Linked DNA regions of Homo sapiens: all the other regions are linked to region 2. Evidence: promoter capture Hi-C in 16 types of primary human blood cells and fetal thymus (Javierre and others, 2016). All regions are on one chromosome and are shown on one strand. Each heading gives the region's core, a stretch centred on a gene start or on the middle of the fragment in contact. The rest is flanking DNA. Distances are from core to core; before and after follow the strand shown.

Region 1 (3,993 bases), core at 1,255-3,754, 2.6 Mb before region 2:
GTGATCATTTCATCATCTGTAAATTGAGAACAGTGCATCCTTTACAGGATATTTCCAAATTTTAATGTGATATTGTTTGTAAGCCAGACATCTTACGCAAGTAGAAGGTTTTAATATTAAAGAGACAGCATAACATAATGGGAAATGACACTGGATTAGGTCAGAACACCAGTATCTGAATGCTGATTTTTCCATTTACTTGACAATGGGTAAGAGGCTAAACTTTTTCTTCATTTTCCTTATCTCTGAAATGGGTGTAATACATACTCTAAGGCACCAAAGCATAGTTTCTAAGAGTTATGCTGGCTCTGGAGTCAGCTGCCTGATTTTCATTTCTGGCTCCCCTACTTTCTAATGTTTTCATGTCTCAATTTCTCCACCTGTAATCTGAGGAGATTCTTTACAACCTCAGAGGTATTACATAGATTTACTGAATGCTTATGAAGAACAAATGAGATAGTTTCTCCAAAAGGTGAAGCACACTGCTTGGTATACCATAAACGCTTGGCTACTATTAATTACCAATGCAGAACCTTGTCATTATTATTAAGTAAAATGCTGAAGTTTTTTTTATAATCCATGAAGTAATAGAACCAATCTTTTTCTTTTTTATGGCACTTATATTCAGAGTGCAAGTATAGTTGCCTTATCACTGTTAGAAAATAATTTTCAATAACACCAGTAACATTGAATGTATAGTAGATGCTTAGTTGCATTAGAGGTATTACTGTATGAAAGGGATGAAAAGAAGTAGACTGCTCTTCATACCTATGCTAACTCTGGAAGAGTCTTGATCTGTGCAATACAAACTGATTTCTGGACTAACGCAGTTTGTTGGATAACTCAAGAGTCATAAAAATGGAACTGGAGTTTTTCTTCATATTGTATATCTAATGTTGAGTACATTTTTGGACATTTATTGAATTACAGGGCTTTTTATTGCTAATGTACACAGATTAAGAGATGATGTTTTGAAAAGAGGTACTTGATGACCCTTCTTTATAAACTAGTTAGGCTATTTTACAAATTGAGAAAGGGGAATAAGCATTGGTCTGTTCGTCTTCGTAAGACTTAATCCTTGCTCCATAGTATTTTGACTGATTGTACGAAATAGGTTCGGGAATATCCTAACTTTTCAGAGGTAGAAAGGTGGTGAAAATTCTAAATATGATTTACTTCAGGAGGCAATATGGAATAAAGAGCCTACCATATAGGCCTTGATTCAAACTTCAGTTTTGTCACATACTGCTGTGGTGAGGTGAATTTACCTCACCTCTTTGAGCCTCAATTTCCCCATTTATCATGGTGCTAATACCTTTCTTGCCAAGTTTGGTGTGGACTTGAGATAATGTGTGTACCATACCTTTTATGCAGTTCCTGGCATAAATGTGAATTCCCTTCTCTCTGTTTAGGTTGCCATTGTTCTGTATTTGTATTAAACTTTTGCCTTCACAGTTTAGTAAGGTGGCATCTTAGTGATGTAGTCTAACCCTATCATTCTGTATAGGTGGGAAAATTTTGATCTAGAGAGGTAAAGCGAACTAAACTATAATCAGGGTTGCAAATCCTAGACTAGAATCTGTGTTTCTGAATCCTGGGAAAGTGTTCTTTTTGACATAGTTATGCCTTGTCCATATTCTTAGGATAACCAGAATCCCTTTTGTATTGCCTCTTTGAATGTTGTATTAAGACCATAGACTTCTGACAGCTTACTTAGGTTCACATCTCACCTTTGCCACTGATTAGCTGTGTAGCTATAGGTAAGGTATTTAACTTTTCTAAGACTTTCTTCATAACAGTACTTAGCTAAGTGGTAGAAAAATGCATGTGAAAGCACTAGTGACTGGCATATGGTAAGTGATCAATAAATGGCAGATATAAAGATGATGAAATATGAAAATGGCAGATATAAAGATGATGAAATATGACAGGATAATCATATTTATTCCTAGAAAAAAGACCAGTCTGATATCAGCAGATATGTTTTCTAGTATCCCAAACTTTGACATACGTAGCATATGAACAACTGAGAGTTCTCTTGGTGTTGATTGCCATGATGAAGACTGAAATTTAAGATCTTCTAAAATAATTCTAATAAATAATGTTTGAATCTTTTTTTTCCTGTGTTTCTCCCCAAGCTTCAGGTAGTACTGTTCTTATTTCTACCTACTTTATCTGACAAATTGTGCCCTTTCTTTTTTATCATTCTTGGAAATTTCATTGTTCTCAAAAATAATTGTCAATAGTGTTTACCTCAATCTTTTCTAATTCGCTTTTTATATTTAAGTAAACCTCTAAGGAGAAACAAAATTTAATTGCCAAATATATAAAATGTTTGCATGAGTACATATAGATACATTTGCCTATAAATGTGCTTTATTTAACACCCCACTATATTGTGATGAGATGATGAATGTGAAATTACTTTCTATAATATTAAAAATAAAATCTAAAGGGTGTTTACTAATTCATAACATAGAACTAACTGTGCCCACAAATGTTCAAGGATACTAAGAATTGGAATTCTGTAAATTACGTGGTAACTGCTTGGCTTTGTTCTTTCTGATGAGTGGTTCTCAAATTGGAATATGACTTAAAATCACCTGGGTGCTTATTCAGAGTGCACTTTGCAGTTTTTCACCCCAGATATTCTGATTTGCATAGATCTGCAGTGGAAGCTAGGAATCAGTATTTTTTAACAGAATGCAGAGGAATTCTAAGGCAGTGGTCCACACCTTTGTCAAACACTGCCCTCAGTCATCTCCAGCTTCTTAGAATGCCCTTGGAAAAGCAAAATTTATTTATGGAATGTCCCTGTGGAATACATTTATTACTGATTTTCATCACTGAGAGAAGTCCACTTAAGCTTGTCTTTGGACAGTGTTTTGATGTTTGTTAAGTTTTGAAAGTTCAGTTTCTGCTAGACTATTTAAAATACTATCTAGTCTTTGGTAATTTTAATTTTTGATAACAATATTCTGCTCATGGCACTTATTTTTTAAAGATTAATGCTAACAAAGATTTATTATTTTAAGAGCATTTAAATTATGATAAATAAGACTCAGTATAATGTTAAGTTTCTTCAAATGTTAAATGATATAACTAGCTTGGTCTAGTTTGTCAAATAGAATAATAGCCAGTTACACTTTTACCATTTATCTAGAAAATCAGACTTCATGGGCCAGCTGATTTGGATACACACACACAGCCATTTCATTGCAACAAAAGTGTTTAAAACTGAATCTTTATTATGAGACTGATTACCACAGCTCCCTTTACTTCTCTGTAGAAATACATTTTATAAAGGATGCTTGCGTAGCAATAACACCAAAGGCAACACATAGCCTACTTTTTACTTTGCTAACAGTTTTCCTTTCATTATATTAATAAATATAATGGGATATCTGCCTTGTATTGTTTCCTTTCTATGATCTCATTTTCCCTGGACCTGTAGCTTTTACTCTCCAGAAGTCTGGTTTGTACAGACTAATATGATAAGTATTAATATTCTCATGCTTGTGATTTCATATTAATTTTTGCAGGGATAGTAATTAAAATTTTAATTTTCCATTTTATAACAAATTTAAATGACAGTTATTTTAAAACAATAAAAGTTGATACATATATGTGGTGCTAGCACATTGTGTGTTTTAATATATGGCTATTTCTTACATAACTTTTAGGACAGATAAGCAATTTGATGCTGCTTTTCCGCGTATTCTAAGTAATGTTTATAGTGTATAGAATAAATATATAGAATAATGGTATAAAACTTGAAAAATCCTTTTATGCCATTGTTTTCTTACATAATATATGCAACTTTTGATTTATAAATAAAAAGGTAGCATATCAATAGGTAAACCAGTCTGACTACTCATATTGTCTTAAAAATGACTAGCTATCATGTTGTATAAAATGTGACATTATTGTATCAATATACCCCCTTCCATGTAAAGTACTTTTGTAAGCCTTCTGAGGGGTTCCTAGATTTGT
Region 2 (4,340 bases), core at 230-2,729:
ATCTTAGGGACAAAAAATGGGCTAACTTTATTGTAACCTTTTGTCTGAAAATTCAAAGCAGTTTCAGAAACAACTTCAAGAGGAATCATTCCCATGCCAATTGCAACACCAGTAGCCACTTGATCAGCTTCTGACTGAGGATGCCAGCCAGAATCCTTCATGGCTAATTCTGCAGCCCCAATGGCCATGATGGTGGGAGAAGACATGGACTTGATATCTGATTTGGACACAAAGTTTTGTTCATTGAACTGACCTTCATCACTACCTCTTGGCACATAAGCAGCAACACTGCAAGGGATACTCTTATACTCTTCACCAACCAGTGAAACAATTCCACTCTCTCCTCCGATAAGACGATCCCAAACCAGGTGAGTTCCAACACCAAGAGGAGTCACTAAGCCAATGCCTGTAATGACAACTCGCCTATGCAATCTGGATATTGGCACAGTTCCGAAAAACTTCCTTTTACTTCTTAACTGTTGGCATAATCTTGAACATAGAAGACGAGTGCTTGTAATTTTCAGGAAATTTTGCAGGCAGTTGGACATGATTAAGATTCAGATGATCAGAAACACATTCCTGTAAAAGACCACAACACACCTAGGAGGTATTCTTTTAAATAGCTTAAGGGCCTAAGGAAAAACATCCAAGGTGTTCCTTTGGGTGCTTGATATGAGCTGCTAATGAACACAGGGAAAATGTTACATACTTTCAATTTATACCTTAACATCAAACTATCTGTTTAAACTTACCTTCTTTTTTAGACCTTAAGTGCCGTCAGACATTTGAAGACAAATAAATGAATTGATGATTCATTCGAGTCACCAAAACAGTAATTCAATGAAAAATATAAAGGCACCTCCAGCCTGATTTGAGCTGCAGGAAGCATCCTTTGTCAGGATTACTGATAACTTCTTCTAAATAGCATTTCTGGTGTCAGTGGCACAGAAAACACATTTCAGGGCATATTCTTTTAAGTAAGTAAGTGGGCTTTATCAATCTTCAGTACTTAAGGATAACCAGCCTTTTCAAAACGCTACCCAGGGCCAAGAGCCCTAGACTGAGCGTCTGGATACATGGGTTGGCAATACACTCTGTGACCAAGCTTGCGATGGGGGAAGGGGACAAGTCTTTCCACTCCTCTAAACTTCTCCAATTGAATCATTGGTGGAAGGAGGGGTTACGACTAGTGGATCACTTCAAGGGTACTACGAAGGCCAGGGGCGGGAGTAAAAGAGTGTAGCCATTCCCTGTATCGCCTCTCAGGCACCACCACACATGTACACAGCCCGAAGAAGCATGGCGAGAGAAAAAGAAATCAGGCCCCAGGTCCTCGGACTCCCCTCTCGAAATTCAACCCCGACTTGATTTGAATGTAAAGGAGGAAAGGAGGGGCGAAGGAGGAGGGTAGCCAGCGATACCTGTAACGGGGCTACCCCGGACACTTCTCCACAGTCGGGGGCGATGACGCTCTCGAGCGCACGCGCACACGCACGTACGCTCATGCGCGCTCGCACGTACGCTCATGCGCTTTCCCACGCACGCGTCCCGTTCGACTCTCTTTCCGCCGGTTGACTTTAAGCCGCGTCACCTTGGCTGAGGTCAGACCGTGGGAGGCGGCTGGGTAGCTGTTTGCGTGAGCAGAGACGCCCCTCTCGGAACCTCAGTGACTCGCCGATAATCGAGGACCTGCCAATAACGCGATGAGGTAGCATTTTCACCCATCAAAAAGGCATTTTTCTTTGGCAGTGATAATGCCCAAATATTCCCTTTTGTCGGAGAAGGGACACCATCGTATTCTACTGGAATTGTAAGAAAGAATTAAGGAAATTCTCTGCAGTTTCAAAGTTATTGCTATAGCTCGCAACGTTATTAGTAATTGTGAGTAAAGTGGAATTAACCAAAATGGCCAACATCAGGAAATTTGTTGTGTATCTTGTGGTACATCCAAATGCCATGCAGCCGTTTAAAATAATTCTGCAGGTGAATATTTATTAATGAGATGTTGCGACTATTTGTTAGGAGACATAGTTACAAAACAGTATATATCCGTTTTTTCAAAAATAATTCTTTAAAGGTCTGCAAGATGTATACTGATTGTGATCTTTCCCTCCTTATTTTTGCTTAGCTTTATTTAATAAAGCTTTTCTACAATAAACAAATGTTTTTGTAATAAAGTTTTTACTTTTTAAAAGTTGTCACCAGGCTGTTCTGCCTATGGAGTAGTCATTCTTTGTTCCTTTACTTTCCTAATAAACTTCCTTTCACTTAAAAAAAAATTATCACCAGATTTGAGACAGTGCTCAAAAATTGTCTCCATTGTCACAATGGAGACATTTGTTTCTAAGTGTGAAAAATTCATTAACTGTTTGCTTAGAGCTGACTGCAAACCGATAAAGGGAAAATATAACATGAAAATGTAAAAAAGCAAGAAGTCGACAAGATGGTATTCATCGAACATCTGTTTTTCACATGCTATCCCAGGCGTGAGTTTTGTCCTTGCTCTTCTTTAGAAAAATGGTTGAGCATAGAATCTTCATCTGGACCTTCTAGTCATATTTATGGTTTTTTCTGGGCAATGCCTCTTGAAGCCATTGTTTCCAAGTAGAGTGCTCTGCATTCTTTCCTACCCCTACAGAAGAATGTGAGTCAAGCTTAGCTTTCCAGGTTGGTCCTGGATTTAAATGAGTTTGGAAATCTATTTTGTTTAAAATAATTCAGCAAAGCTCAGTTTGACCTTCGTCCCAGGCCTAACCAGTCACCTCTAGTTGATCCTCATTCAGTGACAAAGTAGAGTTTCTTGAAGAATTAAAACAAACACATGTGGTTATAAAGTAACACTTGATGAGTAAGTACCTAAACTTGATCTCTTTTCATTGCTGTCTTTAAAATAATAGTGTGAAAATACCTACAATATTTTCTCTGAAGCTGAACTCATAAGAAACATACAGTTTTAATGTGCTATTTCTTTTGTAATATCACAAAATCGTCTTGGCTAAGAGGTGACAAAATCTTTCAGAAAAATAAAAAGACCATCATTTTTGTATCTACCTCTTATCACCTTTTCTTTGATCTGGAAAAGGGTGGGAAATTTTATGATATTTAATGGCTTTACATATTTGGTACCATATTTCCTGCTACAATTCCATCGTGTCTTCTTGCACCAAAATCTTCAAATGGGCTCTGCTTATCCTACCCTCCTATTAAGACTTCCTAGGTTTGCCTTAAATTCTTTGTAATCTGATTCAAAACTATCTTTCCAATTATGGCTCCCATTCTCTATTAAATGAGCTTGCCACCCAGCAAACTGATTTTCTCACTATACATGTCTTGATTGACCCTAACTTTTCTCATCTCTGTGCTTTTGCTATTTTCAACAACCACTCATTTTCTTCCTATCAATGCTTGAAGTTTGAATGCAAAAATGAGTAGAGGTATGGCTCTTGCTTTCAAGAAGTTTATGGTCTAGTAAAGGGAGACACCCATAGAAACAAGTAAGTGCAAACTGTTGAAACAGGTGCTATAGTGGAATTATTATAACACAAAAGGGACAATGAGGTCTGTGCTACCTCGTAAAGTCAGAAAAGGCTTCAGAGAAATGATCCTTGAACTGCATCTTGGAAATGAATGTTTGTCTAGTAAATTGGGTGGGAAAGGGCATCCTGGCAGGAGGAGAACAAAGGCCTGGAGAAATGAAGTGTCATGGTATCTTCCACAAACAGCTAAATATGTGGCCCATGTCAAATTTGAAGTGTGGGACAAAGCAACAGTAAACGCATGAGAGTAAGGCAGGGCCCAGATCACAAAAGCCTGGGGTATCATACTGAGGACTTTGGATTTAATCCCGTAGTTCAGAGACCATATGCTAGCCTTCATGGTATAATTTGGAGTGCAACATTCTTTTATTGATTCTAAACTCCTCTAGAAAGGACATGGTAAACTCTCTCATTCCCTTCACTGGAGTCTCTCTTACTCCTCTTTGTCTTGAACAAAGCCACTTAAAATATTTAACTTACCAGCCTGGTTCCTGACACCATTTGACTTTAGAATGTGGATAGAGGGAGCCATAGAAAACTTTTTACCAGGAGAACAACATGATCAGATGGGTGCTTTAGAAAGATCACTATTGCACAAATGAGCAGGGTGGGTTGGAAGGATGTGGAAATGGACACAGGGAAGAAAGTTAAGAATGGATGAAACACGAGGCTCTGAAGGCAATGGCAAGGAGAGATCCAGGAGATGTTGAGAAGGAAACGTTACTAGGATATTGTACATGATTTAAGGAGGGTGGGGAGTCTCTCACAGGTAGCAAGTCCTCTCCTTTCTCACCTTCTCAACCT
Region 3 (4,345 bases), core at 1,026-3,525, 2.5 Mb before region 2:
ATATTCTATTTATTGAGAAAGTGATTTAAAATTATTATTTTTAATCATAGAAATCAGGGTTTGGGCTGTATTGATATTGTCGATCATGAAATGTCCACACTTATTCTAAGTGGCCAATTATTTGGAAATAAAGAAGGAAATAAAGATGGCTTCACATGGAAATTTAAGTTCTTTCAGGGTGGAGATTTACTTGGTTCATACACCTTTTGCCTGAATTAAAGTATTTCATGTAGGAGGACTTTTATCCTTTTTGATAGACAGTTTCATATATCTTGAACTCAATATCTCAGATCTCTTCTACTGTATTACTGAATAGCATACATACATAGACAATGTTCGCCATTCACTAGATATTTTTTTCTATTATCTTACACTTATTCAAGCTTGTCTGTGATTAATGGAATTGGTGTCAGATGCTGGAATTTATTCTGACCAATGAACACAGCTGACTCAGGGGAGTACAATCTCCTGCCAAGTAATAGAACCAAACCCAATATGCATAAAAGAAATACAATACTCCAGGCTTTAGCTGAAGGAAGCAACTACCTGTGTAATAACAAAGCAGCAAAAACTATTTCTCATGTGGCTGCATAGGCTGTATATTATATCTGATCTCTAATGTAGCTTACTGGTTTGCCTTTTTTAAAACCAAAATTGGAAATTTTCCTTTGTAAAGAAAAAAAGTCTTATGAGATAATTGCTTGATTAATGTTTTGAACAATACCAAGAAATTGTTTAATTAAAATAAATATTTTTGTTTGAAATTGAAGTGGATGTGAAATATTGTCCTTGCCTATAGATCTCAAAATCTAGTACTAATTGTTGGTTGTTAATATGATTCATACAATAGACATTTGTTAAACCAGCTTTTGAGTGGAGAAAATTATTTTCCATTTAAACAGTACAGTGATGATAGCTATCAAACAGGTATACTAAAAAGTCAGTGACTGTGACAGTTTAAAGTGTTAGACAAATGATGTATAAGGTTCTTTAGTAAGGAAAGATTAGCCAAAAATTTTTTACCCAGCTAGAAGCTTTTAAATCTACACTTGATATCTCTGTTCTAGGTAAAATTCAAACAACCAAAAAACAGTGGCCCATCTGTAGCTTATGAATCTATTTAAAATTGAATATTTTATGTTGACTTCTTTCATACTAGCTGAAACTTGCTCTAAAGAGCTTCCTTTGGAATCTTTAGATTTCTTTTTATAAGGTTCAATTCAGTACATCCATAAATCGACAGAATGAAGAAAACATAACAAAAAGCCACCTATTCCTTCCTCTTGCTCCCTTATTAGCTAAAGTAAAATTTACATCTGTAAGACTTACTGAGTTGCTGCCAAAATGGAACTGAATTCTTAAAAGCAGGAACATGCCTATGTGAAACATTAGAAAACCAAAATAAATGGGAAAATTCAGACTTGAAGAGCTGAATCATGTGACAACAAAGTACTGATCTTAATTCAGAAAGGCTACTTGGAGAAGGTGTATCTTAAGGGGTAAAAAACCTGTGGGTTACCACATATTAACAGGGAATAATATCAACAGAGGCACCCATAAGCAAGCAAGACACAACTGAGACAGATGTACCAGGTGAAAAAAATCTTCAGTATGGATACACATGGGTATTCTGAAGGCTACAATGAATGGTTTAGTCTTTGACATAAGGAGGATGAACATATTATTTATACTGTGTAATCTAATCTGGCTTCTATGGGGAAAGCAACATGTACATAAGTGAATTTTCTACATGAAGTGGGCTACTTCTGATTTTAATCAAAGCTATAAAATAGATTGTATATTTCACTAGCTTCTTAAAGTAACTCTTCCATTTTCATTTATCTCTAAAAACAGTTAACTTCCTGTGCTCTAGGAAATGCACCAATACCAAAGGTCAATGTGGAAATATGGGCATGTTTGCCCCTATGCTGTGTGGTCTCTAGATTTCTATATTTGCTTTGCTTTTGTCTGCTCTAGTAATCTCCCTCCTTTTGATCTGTGGCCTGGGAAAATGTGGTTTCTTTGTATTTCAAATAAAAGTAAAATAGTTTTTTGAGTGGTTCACTCAAGAGTAAAGTGTGGAACTTGAATTGATTCTTTAGTGTCCTATTTAAATTCTTTCTTAAAAAAAAATCTCTCAGATCTATTGCATGGGATTAGGGAAAGTTAAACCTTGTCTTAGTGGGTAGTAATTTCTATTTGTGATTTTAATGAGGACTGTGAAAATATACGTAAAATTTACTTATCTTGAAACTAGTTACAATGGCTGTGGAAGAGTTAACAGCTCATGGGGAAAAAATAACTTTTAATATAAAAGCTCAAATTATTAAATTGGGACATAAATTTTTTATACTACTTCCTGAGTCCATTACTATGTTACAGAATGGTAATTCACTTAGAAATATAACTTTTCAAAATGAAAGATTAAAGGACTAACAAGTTATCAGGTTAAGAACATTATGTTTTAGAAAATTCTACATCAAAGATGTAAGTAAAATTAATTCATATAAGTAGGTATCTCCTTATCTATGGTTCTGCTATGGTTTGATGTGTCCCCCAAGAGTTCATGTGTTGGAAACTTAGTTGCTAATTTAACAGGACTAAGAAATGGAGCCTTTAAGAGGTAATAGGGTGATGAGGCTGGAGCCCTCGTGAATGGATTTATGCCATTATTACAGGTATTAGTTCTCAAGAGAGCGGGCTGTTATAAAAGTTTGCCCACACTTGTTTGTCCTTCTATTTTTTACACCCTATTATGTTTTGATGCAGTATGAAAACCCTTGCCAGAAGCTGCTGGCAAATAAACTCCAGAACTGTGAGCCAAACAAACTTTTCTTATAAATTACCTGGTCTTGGGTATTCTCCCATAGCAACAGAAAATGGACTAAGATAGTTTCCAAATAAGCCTCTACTACTACTAACAGTAACTACCAATATAAGAGCATGTACCAGGTCTGAAGCACTGTCTTATACACTGTACGTGTACCTGCTATATGCAATACTCAGTACATCCTCACAAACTGTATTAGATTTACTTCCACAGCTGTATAGCTAATAAGTGGTAGAATCAGGAAGGATTCTGGTTCATAGCCATTCTGCTATACTGCCTAGTTATTATTAACACCTTTGAAGGTTGTCCATTCCTGCTTTTCTTTAGTTTTGGCTCCCATGATTAGCCATTAGCATATACACTGGAAAAAAATAATATAAGGACCATATTGAACTCTAAAAAATCAGTATCACTGTTATAGAACTATAGTTGTGGGAAAACTTTCAAAAGGTCCAGAATGACCAGGAAAACCATATCCCAATTCAGTAACTACTCCTTTCCCATTTAAGAAACCAAAACTTTGAAATAAAATATTTATTTCAGATAAAGTTAATATTTCCATAATTAAGGTAAAGCAAACATATATGCTTGAGTCCATTATTTAAGGACTATAAAATGACTTCCATGAATATTAGAGTTCCTGAATGTCATTTGAGTATCTGCCTACATGCTTGTTGGAAGCTTCTGTAGCCTTTTCTTTGTAGGAATTCCAGTTTTTCTGAATTCTTCCCTTTCCTTCAGGTATTCCATTTTGCATTCTTCATAAAAGGCTGGATCATTATAGCTATGAGAAGGAAATGAAAATATTTTCAAGTAAATAATCCTGCATGTGTTAAATGTAAGCTTACTTTAATTACTAATATTCAGACATCTGGTTCATCAGGCTCAATCTTTAGAAGTACACTTTTAGTAATGGTTAAAAATTCACTGTTAACTTTATGCTACCAAACTAAAGACCAAATCATTCATTTTTATATAGCACTGTCACAGAATAGAGCAATGAGAAGCACAGCTCCTGTCCTGGGAACCCACGGTGTAAAGGACAAGTAAAGACTGGATTAAAATTAAATCTACAAAATACTGTGACAGAGGTATGGCCCAGTGCACCATGGAAACAAGGAAGAAATGGGGAGGGCAGAGGTTTCAAGGGGAAATGCTTGCGTTGTATTTTGAAAGACCAACAGAAATCCATATAGAAGGCAAGTGTGGGAAGACACATGGATGAGGAAAAATTAATGCAGGAAAACCTGCCAAGTAGATAGGTACCACTATAGCAGATTATGCACATAGGAGAAAAGGCCTGAAATGAAGATGGAATGGGCAAAAGTCAAATCATGATGTGCCATTTATGCTATACTCAGAAATTAAAATCAATCCTGAAGAAAATGGGGCACAATTAATAGAGCACCTCACCTGTAAGATCAGTTTTGTGTCTTGGATGAATCTGACAACATGTGGCAGATAGGACAAAAGGAGGCAAGCAAGGTTAGAGGCAAGATAGCCAATAAACTGTTA
Region 4 (4,049 bases), core at 1,550-4,049, 2.6 Mb after region 2:
GTCTACTCTCTACCAGGCGCTGTGCTAAGCCCTTTGGTCCCACAACTGTGAAAAACCTCGACTAGCCAACTTGCTAAGTACAAAAACGAAGGTTAGTACAAATACTTGTGGGAACACAAAAATGGGACGACACTTTCAAATCCCTATTCAATCAATACATCCTCAGGGCTGGGCTAAGGTTAAAATTCTCCAAACTAGTAAGTGGTTTTAAGTAACCTTTGTGATAACAGAAGAACACAGAGGCCTGCATGACTGCATGATTCTAAATAAAAATTGAACCATATGACAGCATTCAGCTATATACTAAAGCAACCATATTTCACAAGAGATGAAGACACTGAAGATTTTTTTTTTTTTCCCCACATTCTGGCTAAAATATCCCTCAAGGCTTTCAAATTCCCTTTGCTCTGAGTTCAGGCCCCCCAAGCAGTTCTGATTACCAACTCAATTTCCTCAATACCTTGATATTTAGGTAGCTGTTATAATCTAGACAGCAGACACAAACAATTCCAGTAAGTGAAAAGGAGTATCTCTCCTCAACTGTCATTCTATCATAATCAATTTCTGAGTTTGATGACTATGAATACATCCCTTATGAGCTGACTAGCTTAAAGTGTTCTGACAAATCCAGAACTGAACCAACAAAACTCATGCCCAGACTCTAAAAGGCCTTGTGCTCCCCATGGTTTTGTCACCTAATAATCACTTTCAGCACTGTATAGCTATCTTCTCAGACACCTTTTTAAAAACAAAATACCTATACTTAATAAGTACCATTAACAGCAAAAAATATATCTTTAAAAATTATAGGTACACTGAACAAATTCCTTTTGAAATGGATCCTTTTGATTACTCTTAATCAAATTACAACTTGAAATAAAACTGTTTCTGATATGATCAAGAATAAGAACAGGTAAAGATACCTCAAATAAAGCAAAATTTTTTAATTACTATAACTTAGTCCAAATGGATAGCTATTTGACACTGATGAAAATTCATCATCACTAAAGATTTAACTTGTAGCTTGCTCTAAGCCAAAGCAATGTTGTAACACCGATCTTTAATGGACTGAAATTTTTGTAAGACAAACCAAAAAGCACTGCAAAAGAATGGAAGCATCAGGAAGCACAGAGCCACAAAGAGTCAACAGAAAATAGTGAATCCTTTCACTGACACACCACACACACCACCACCAGCACCCCTTCAACCCCAACAGCTCCCCATGCCAAACAGAAACAGATCTGCCCCAACAGCTCTGAAACATACTAACGGAAAAGCTGACTACTTTTCTACCTATTCTGTAAATGAAGAGCACCAGTCTCCACAGCTGTGACATCTTTTATGAGCACTAAAGTCACTTAATAGAACACTGAAATTTTATATCAGTATGTTTCACATCTAGCTCTAAAAGTCGTAACATATTTCTTGCTTTTTTTCATTTTTATTTCACTCTAAATTCTCATTCTTGGATTTAATATTTTTTTTCACCTTCTTTCAGTTAAAATATATCAGAAGTTTAAAATCTTGTAAGTATGTACATAATGGCATATCAGATAGGGCGGCATGCATGAGAGTGAAAAAGAGAACAATCCTCAGGGAAAGGTGCTCAGATATAGCAAAATGCTGCCAGCAATACCTTAAGAAATGTGAAATGAGTGAGAAATCATTTTATACATTTTAAAACAGGAGCAATCCATTCCATGACAAATATATGGGTACCTCAATGAAATAATATTCTCTATACTGAGGATGCAGCTTCAGCGTAATAAACTATGATTTAATAAACTATGCTGAGAGTTTCAGTTGTGTATAACATTAGTTATAAAGCCACACATTCTTCTCAATATTCTTATTTATGTGCATTTACATACTATCGAATGCCATAGTTATATAATTACTTAAAAAGATTACTCAATGATGTGATCTGAGCCATAATCTGAAACTCAAATTTCTACTGCCGAATATTAGAGGAAGATTAAAATAAAAATTAGTCTCACCAGAGAACTAATAAAAATACTATTAGAAATTCCCCAACAGAGGTGTAATTTCTGGTTTCACATTAAGGAAAAGAATTATTCCCACTTTTGAGTTAAGACATATTTCATCCAAATGTTAACCTACAAATGATAAGTCCATCTGAGGCCATTGATAACCACTATAGGAACTTTTAGAAATAAAGTTTTCACATCTCTTTTTCAAATATCAATAATAAAAGGAATTTCTCCTGGGTTTGTTTTTTGAATGCTTGATTACAGAAAAAGTATAGAAAAAAATTATTGTACCACTCAGGTGCAACGAATTTTTATGAAGAAAAAGTAGTCTATGAATCAATTTAATTAGTCGTAAGTGTAAACTTGATGTCTTGTCTCTCTGAAGTACAAATGAATAAAAATTCCTGAATTAAAATCCTTTAAACATTATCTTCTAAATTAGCATTTTAAAATTAATTCCTAAATAGCTAATCTGATCCGATTATCTCATCTACAGGGAAGATAAACTTAAATCCCAGGGTTATAAACAAACAGCTACTCTCCAATGATACTTTCAAAGATATTGAGAGAGATAAATACGCTTACTTCATAACTCAAAGTAAAATTTAATTTTTAACCATAAAATAAGTAGTCCTTCCTAAAACTATATTAAGAGGCTTACATATTGTTACTTCTTCAACACAAACTGTCTAAGCTTGTATTAGCTATGTACCCTATGTTGTAATTACAGTCCTGGAAATTAGCAACATACAGTGAATGAAACTCACATGTTCCATAAAAATGAAATGATTTGGCTTGAAATATTACTGACTACATAAAGGCAACTATAGTCATTCCATAAATCCAGCCTACTACCCAGGTAAGCCTTATAACAGTATCTACTAGTATAAAACTGCAAAACCAAGTGTTCATTTAAGCTTTTATAACAGGAAAGCGTTTAATTCTGTCATATATGTCTTGCTGTCTTCCTACTCATGTTTCTAAACTTTTCTAAAATGTAAAATAAATATATAGTATATGCACACAGCAATATCCAGCTTTAAATTTAACTGCAAAGACATTTATGCAGAAAATAACAGTGGAACACCTGATTTGGGGGTAAAAGGTGCTGCAGGGGAAAGAGAATGGGGTATGGCATTATATGAAAACACTCTATTTCAGCGTCAGCCCACATACAGAATTCCAAAGAGCCAAGGAGCATCCAAATTGCCGTAGTAAAGGCAAATATTTAGATTCACAAAGTCCAGACTGAATTATCACATATCTAGAAACATACTTTTTAAAGAAATCAGGGATTAAAAACTAAGAAGAGCGTAAAATCCTTTAGAACCGCGAGATACTTTGAGGGTAAACCCTAGCACTTCCTTTCGTACTTTTAAATAAAAATATTTTAGTAGACTCTCAAGAATACACAATACAAAACGATGAATCTTGAAAACATGCAAATGGGTCTAACAGCCACCGAGCACAGGATGATGTCTTTCTAAAGCAGCCTTAATTTCCTTAAGGGAAGATGGATTGGACATTTCTGGTTGGTCGTGGGGGAAAAAAGCCACAAGAAGCCACGCTTTATCTTCATTAGAAATGGTAAAGGGCAAAAAGATCAAAACATTATGAGAGAGATCGGAGAAAAGAGGGGGAGAAGTGGGGTGGGCGGGAAGGGGGAGAGGACAGAGGGAATCCAGTTTCAAACCAGGCCAGTGGGGGCTGCAGAGAAGAGACCAGAGAAAAATGGGCTTCGGTTCCAAACTGTGACAAGCGCCAGGCATCACAAAAGACCAATACAACACACACCCCTCACCAGGACACACACAAATATACCCCACAAGGTCTTCTCCGGGCGGGCCACCGGGGTGCGGCGGCGAAGGAGCCAAACCCGGCACTCGCCAGGAGACACACCATGTGCAGCAATTATGCAATTAGGGAAAATAGCAAAAGATCAAGCCGGGCACTTTCCACCGTGACATTTATCCTGTACTTTTGAAAAGACTTAGTTCCAGGATGCGGCTAGGAGAAGGAAAGCGCTGGGAGGGTTGAGAAGGATGGGGAACTGAGAAC
Region 5 (4,261 bases), core at 1,029-3,528, 2.5 Mb before region 2:
AAAATTAACATCACCTACGAGAGACAGATACCCATGTACCTCCAGATGGGATACTCTGGAAAGACACATCATGTATGCAGTATGTGGCTGAGATCAAGGTTATTCTTGATCTAAACAAAAGTCAGATCAACACAAAATAAGGAGAGTTCTGTTTGTCACTCCGTTACCTAAAAACTTGCAGTGTCTTCCCATTGTTCTTAGTATAAAATTCAAAATCCTTGAAATGGTTTACAGATCATTTCATGCTTCAAAACTGAAATCCCAACCCCCAACCCACTGCCATGGCACATACTCCTCTTTGATCTCAATTCTTCTTTCTTATTGTCTTTGCTTAAGCCTGTGTTTTTCAAATTTCACAGAGCAACCATCAGAGAGTTGTTAATCCGATGAGACAAAAATAATGTATTTTCTATGGCAAATATGCTTTTAATTTATAAATATACAAAATGTAGATGTTAGGTCTTTTTTTTTTTGTTCTGAGCCACCAACGTAATTTATGTCTAAGAAGATACTCTAGAGATATGGCGGCAATAATAAAATCAAAATTTTTCTTATAGGCCAGGCAGGGTGGCTTATGCCTATAATCCCAGCACTTTGGGAGGCCGAGGTGGGCAGATTACTTGAGCCCAGGAGTTCAAGTGCTCCTGAGCAAGGAGTTCAAGTGCAGCCTAAGCGACATGGTGAAACCCCATCACTAAAAAAAATAAAAAATTTTTCTAATCAACTCCACAACCTTTTACATATTAAACATACAATGCTCAAAAAAGATTCTTCAAGTTTGTTTACATGTCTAACTTAAAATTTTCTAGTAAATGTAAGGGCTAGTACTGTTCCTGTACCCCTAAAGGTAATTTACCTACATTCCCACAGGAACCACTGAAAGAACCCCAACTTGGAGTACTGCAACCCAAATGTTCCAAGAACATCCATAATTAAATCTTCCCAAGACACATATACCTTAAACACCTTCTCATGGAATGTCATGAAATTCTTGAACCCACTTTCCACCCCCTAAGCCCTATCTCTGTCCCATCTTCCTCCTTTTATTAAGTTCCCGGAAAAAAACAGCAATAGAAGGACACAGGGACACACACACACCTGATTAAGGAAACTTCCCTTAGGCTGCCATGCCCCATTCTGCATAAGTAGAGAATGAATCTATGTTGACAGAGGGAAGAGAACCTAACTAAAAAGGGGAAAGGTCAAAGAAGGGAGAAAGGAATTACTTTAGTTGATAGAGAAAGTGAAAAATCAAATTTATCAGGTGCAGGTTCCTATGGGCCATCATCTGAGAATATAATCATGTCTGAAAATTTGTCCGGAACATGGCAATAAGCAAAGATTGCTGTTATTACTGCTACATTAACAAAAAAAAGGAAAATAATGTAAATAAAACTATGTATAAGCATGTAACCTGCATTTTTTCGCTGGGTTCACAGTTTCTTGAGGAAAACAGAGACCCTACAAAGTTAATTAAAAGTTGCTGCCAAATGAAAATCAAGCTTCTATAAAGATCACAGAAAATACAAAATAAACCAATAGGAAAACAGATTTTGCTAAATGAACCTCAATTGGTGTATCTATTATTCACTTACTCAATATGGGCAAATACCATCGTGGGCTGTACAAAGCAGTAAAACATCAAAATGTGAAACTAAGCTTCAACGTATGAACCAAATAAACACGAAATTAAAAAAAAAAAAAAACTGGCTTCCATACATTTTATTCTGGAATTTAAACAGACAAAACAATTTAGGGAAAAAAAAAAAAACCTTCCTACTTGCTGACTCCACTTTTTTACTCTCCATTGCTTCCATTCCTTCCTTTGATGAAGTTTCCAATAATCACATTGTTAGATTTGACCATGACCTTCCACCCAGCTGCTGACGTACAAAAACTGGAATTATCCCTATTTCCTCTTTTTTTTTTTTTTGAGACGAAGTCTCACTCTGTGGCCCAAGCTGGAGTGCAGTGGCGCAACCTCGGCTCACTGCAACCGCTGCCTTCCAGGCTCAAATTCTCATTCCTCAGCCTCCTGAGTAGCTGGGACTACAGGCGTGTGCCACCATGCCTGGCTAAATTTTTTGTATTTTAGTAGAGATGGATTTTCACCATGTTGCCCAGGGTGGTCTCAAACTCCTGAGCTCATGCGATCTGCCTGCCTCGGCCTCCCAAAGCACTGGGATTAAGGGCATGAGCCACGGTGCCCACTGTTTCCTCCCTTTCTCTCACCATCCTTATTCAATGCAACCACAGGTCCTGTCAATTTCTCCTCATGACGCTGTATATTTCTTTCCATCTGTCTATTACCATCTTGGGCTAAGATACAAACATATTTGGCCTGGACTACTGCTCCTATCCCTTAACCTGTCTCCCTTCTTCCACTTATGACCTGACCCCTCTACAATGCATGCTACCACTGTAGCGAGGATAATAAACACATAAATTATGTTACTGCCCTCTTTAAAAGATTCTAAAGGCATTTGATGCCATTAGAAAAAATCCAAATGCTTTATTATCACAGCCAGCCTTTGAGGACTTGCAGCCTCTGCAATATCTAGGCATTTAGTGACTACCTACTTTCCCAATATCTTTCCTTATGGATCCCCTCCACACTCTGACCCACGTTCAAGTTAAATATTTTAAGTATTTGCTACCTGATGGCCAAGCACACTCTGCCTAGCTTCCTCTCATCCCTCAGATTCCAATTCAAATGACACTTCCTCATAAAGCTCTTCACTGACTAATCTCTTCACCATCTACCACATGACATTATTTTCTTCATGTTTATCACAATCTGTAAAAATGTGTGTGTGTATGTGTGTGTGCCCACGCACGTGTCTGTGTAGGGGGAAAAGGGGGTGTTAATTGTTTTTTCTACCACTAGATAAGCTTTATTGGGAGCAGGAATTTTGTTTGTCCTATGTACTACTGTTCCCTAGGGTCCAGAACAATATGGGACATATACCAGACACTCAACAAGTCTTTGTTTAATCAATACTCAAAAGGTGGCATGGTCTACAGCACTGGACTGGAAATGAAATTACCTAGGTTCTAACCAGACTTGACTCTACCAGCAACTAGCTGTGTGGCCTTGGGTACAACACAAGATTGGAGTGGCTTATGAGTAACTGGAAGGTAAGCAAGTGAAGAGAGCAAGTATGAAGACTTTTTTCCCAAATTTCCTTGTCTAAATTCAAAAAGTGTAGATATATGGAAATCTTTAACCTCTCTCATTCTCAGTCTCCTCATCCGTATGAGATTACTTTAAAGGTCACTTCAAGTTCAGAAGTACCATAATTAGGCTGGGTGCGGTGGCTCACACCTGTAATCCCAGCACTTTGGGAGGCCAAGTCAGGCAGATCACTTGAGGTCAGGAGTTCCAGACCAGCATGGCGAACACGGCGAAACCTCATCTCTACTAAAAATACAAAAATTAGCCGGCCGTGGTGGCGGGCGCCCGTAATCCCAGCTACTCAGGAGGCTGCGGTGGGAGAATTGCTTGAACCCAGTAGGCGGAGGCTACAGTGAGCCGAGATAGCGCCACTGCACTCCAGCCTGGGCGACAGTGAGACTCCGTTTCAGTAAAATAAAAAAAAAAGATACCATAAATTATATGGGCCTAAACTTGAACCTTCCTTACTCACCCCTCACTTATACTCTACCCCTTCTACCCTCAAGAACCAAATCATGGTAGTCATCCTGAAACCAAGCATCGCACAGTGCACCTTACTATCTAAACCTTTGCTCATAGGGCTGCCTCTTCTCCAGCTCCAACCACTGGAAATTCCATCCCTCAAAGCCCAGATCAACTGCTAACTGCTTCATAACCACCTAGTCCAAAATGAATATGATCATTATGTTCCAGAACTCCTCTATGCTTCAAATTAGAGTACTCCCTGATCTACCACTACCTGCTGGACTAGTCACTTAACTTCTCTTCGCCTCAGTTTCCTAATCTGTAAAATGGAGCTAAAAGGACCTACCATACCACATATTATTGTTGGATAATAGAGAACACTTAGCATGGTAATAACATGTTCAATTAAAACATTATTTCTGTGCTACATATATTTTCCATGCTCCTTGAAGGCTCCGAAAGAGCATTTTCCATTTCTGAATCTCCCAAGTTTGACGCCATTTACCTCTCAATGTTTTGACTTTTTGTATCCATAAAATGAAAGAAATGGACTAGACCAACTACCATTCCCTCCAAAAATGTTATCTATTCCCTTGCAAAAATAGCCTAACGCAAAGATAC

The links. Contacts are between HindIII fragments. The CHiCAGO score rates a contact against its expected background, and 5 or more counts as called.
Region 1: a fragment that was not itself captured here is called in contact with the fragment with the promoter of OXSM in region 2 in 11 of 17 cell types (non-activated CD4 T cells, activated CD4 T cells, total B cells and 8 more); the score reaches 18.4 in non-activated CD4 T cells.
Region 3: a contact is called between a fragment that was not itself captured here and the fragment with the promoter of OXSM in region 2, in 2 of 17 cell types (naive CD8 T cells and monocytes). The highest score is 5.8, in naive CD8 T cells.
Region 4: a fragment that was not itself captured here is called in contact with the fragment with the promoter of OXSM in region 2 in 8 of 17 cell types (naive CD8 T cells, fetal thymus, total B cells and 5 more); the score reaches 15.4 in naive CD8 T cells.
Region 5: a contact is called between a fragment that was not itself captured here and the fragment with the promoter of OXSM in region 2, in 9 of 17 cell types (non-activated CD4 T cells, activated CD4 T cells, fetal thymus and 6 more). The highest score is 12.8, in non-activated CD4 T cells.

What each region holds. Positions count from the first base shown.
Region 1 is chr3:28,343,801-28,347,793 of GRCh38, reverse strand. All of the region lies in intron 1 of AZI2 (5-azacytidine induced 2), which reads left to right. Among named protein-coding and RNA genes, the nearest start is that of ZCWPW2, 2.9 kb to the left of the region's middle. The HindIII fragment of the contact is 728 bases long and covers 2,141-2,868 here.
Region 2 is chr3:25,787,229-25,791,568 of GRCh38, reverse strand. OXSM (3-oxoacyl-ACP synthase, mitochondrial) reads right to left here and starts at 1,479. Exons shown (of 3, transcript NM_017897.3): 1 at 1,422-1,479; 2 at 1-579. The coding sequence starts at 548. It also overlaps a transcript of NGLY1 not described here. RefSeq lists enhancers at 1,182-1,251, 1,262-1,331, 1,471-2,000 and a silencer at 1,434-1,653. The HindIII fragment of the contact is 1,038 bases long and covers 1,108-2,145 here.
Region 3 is chr3:28,318,778-28,323,122 of GRCh38, reverse strand. It overlaps CMC1 (C-X9-C motif containing 1), which reads right to left. Exons shown (of 4, transcript NM_182523.2): 4 at 1-3,614. The coding sequence ends at 3,494. AZI2 (5-azacytidine induced 2) reads left to right here. Exons shown (of 8, transcript NM_022461.5): 8 at 1-2,076. Among named protein-coding and RNA genes, the nearest start is that of ZCWPW2, 28 kb to the left of the region's middle. The HindIII fragment of the contact is 2,477 bases long and covers 1,037-3,513 here.
Region 4 is chr3:23,203,737-23,207,785 of GRCh38, reverse strand. The region is part of intron 1 of UBE2E2 (ubiquitin conjugating enzyme E2 E2); the gene reads right to left. Among named protein-coding and RNA genes, the nearest start is that of UBE2E2, 2.4 kb to the right of the region's middle. The HindIII fragment of the contact is 223 bases long and covers 2,688-2,910 here.
Region 5 is chr3:28,242,398-28,246,658 of GRCh38, reverse strand. All of the region lies in intron 1 of CMC1 (C-X9-C motif containing 1), which reads right to left. Among named protein-coding and RNA genes, the nearest start is that of CMC1, 2.9 kb to the right of the region's middle. The HindIII fragment of the contact is 1,233 bases long and covers 1,662-2,894 here.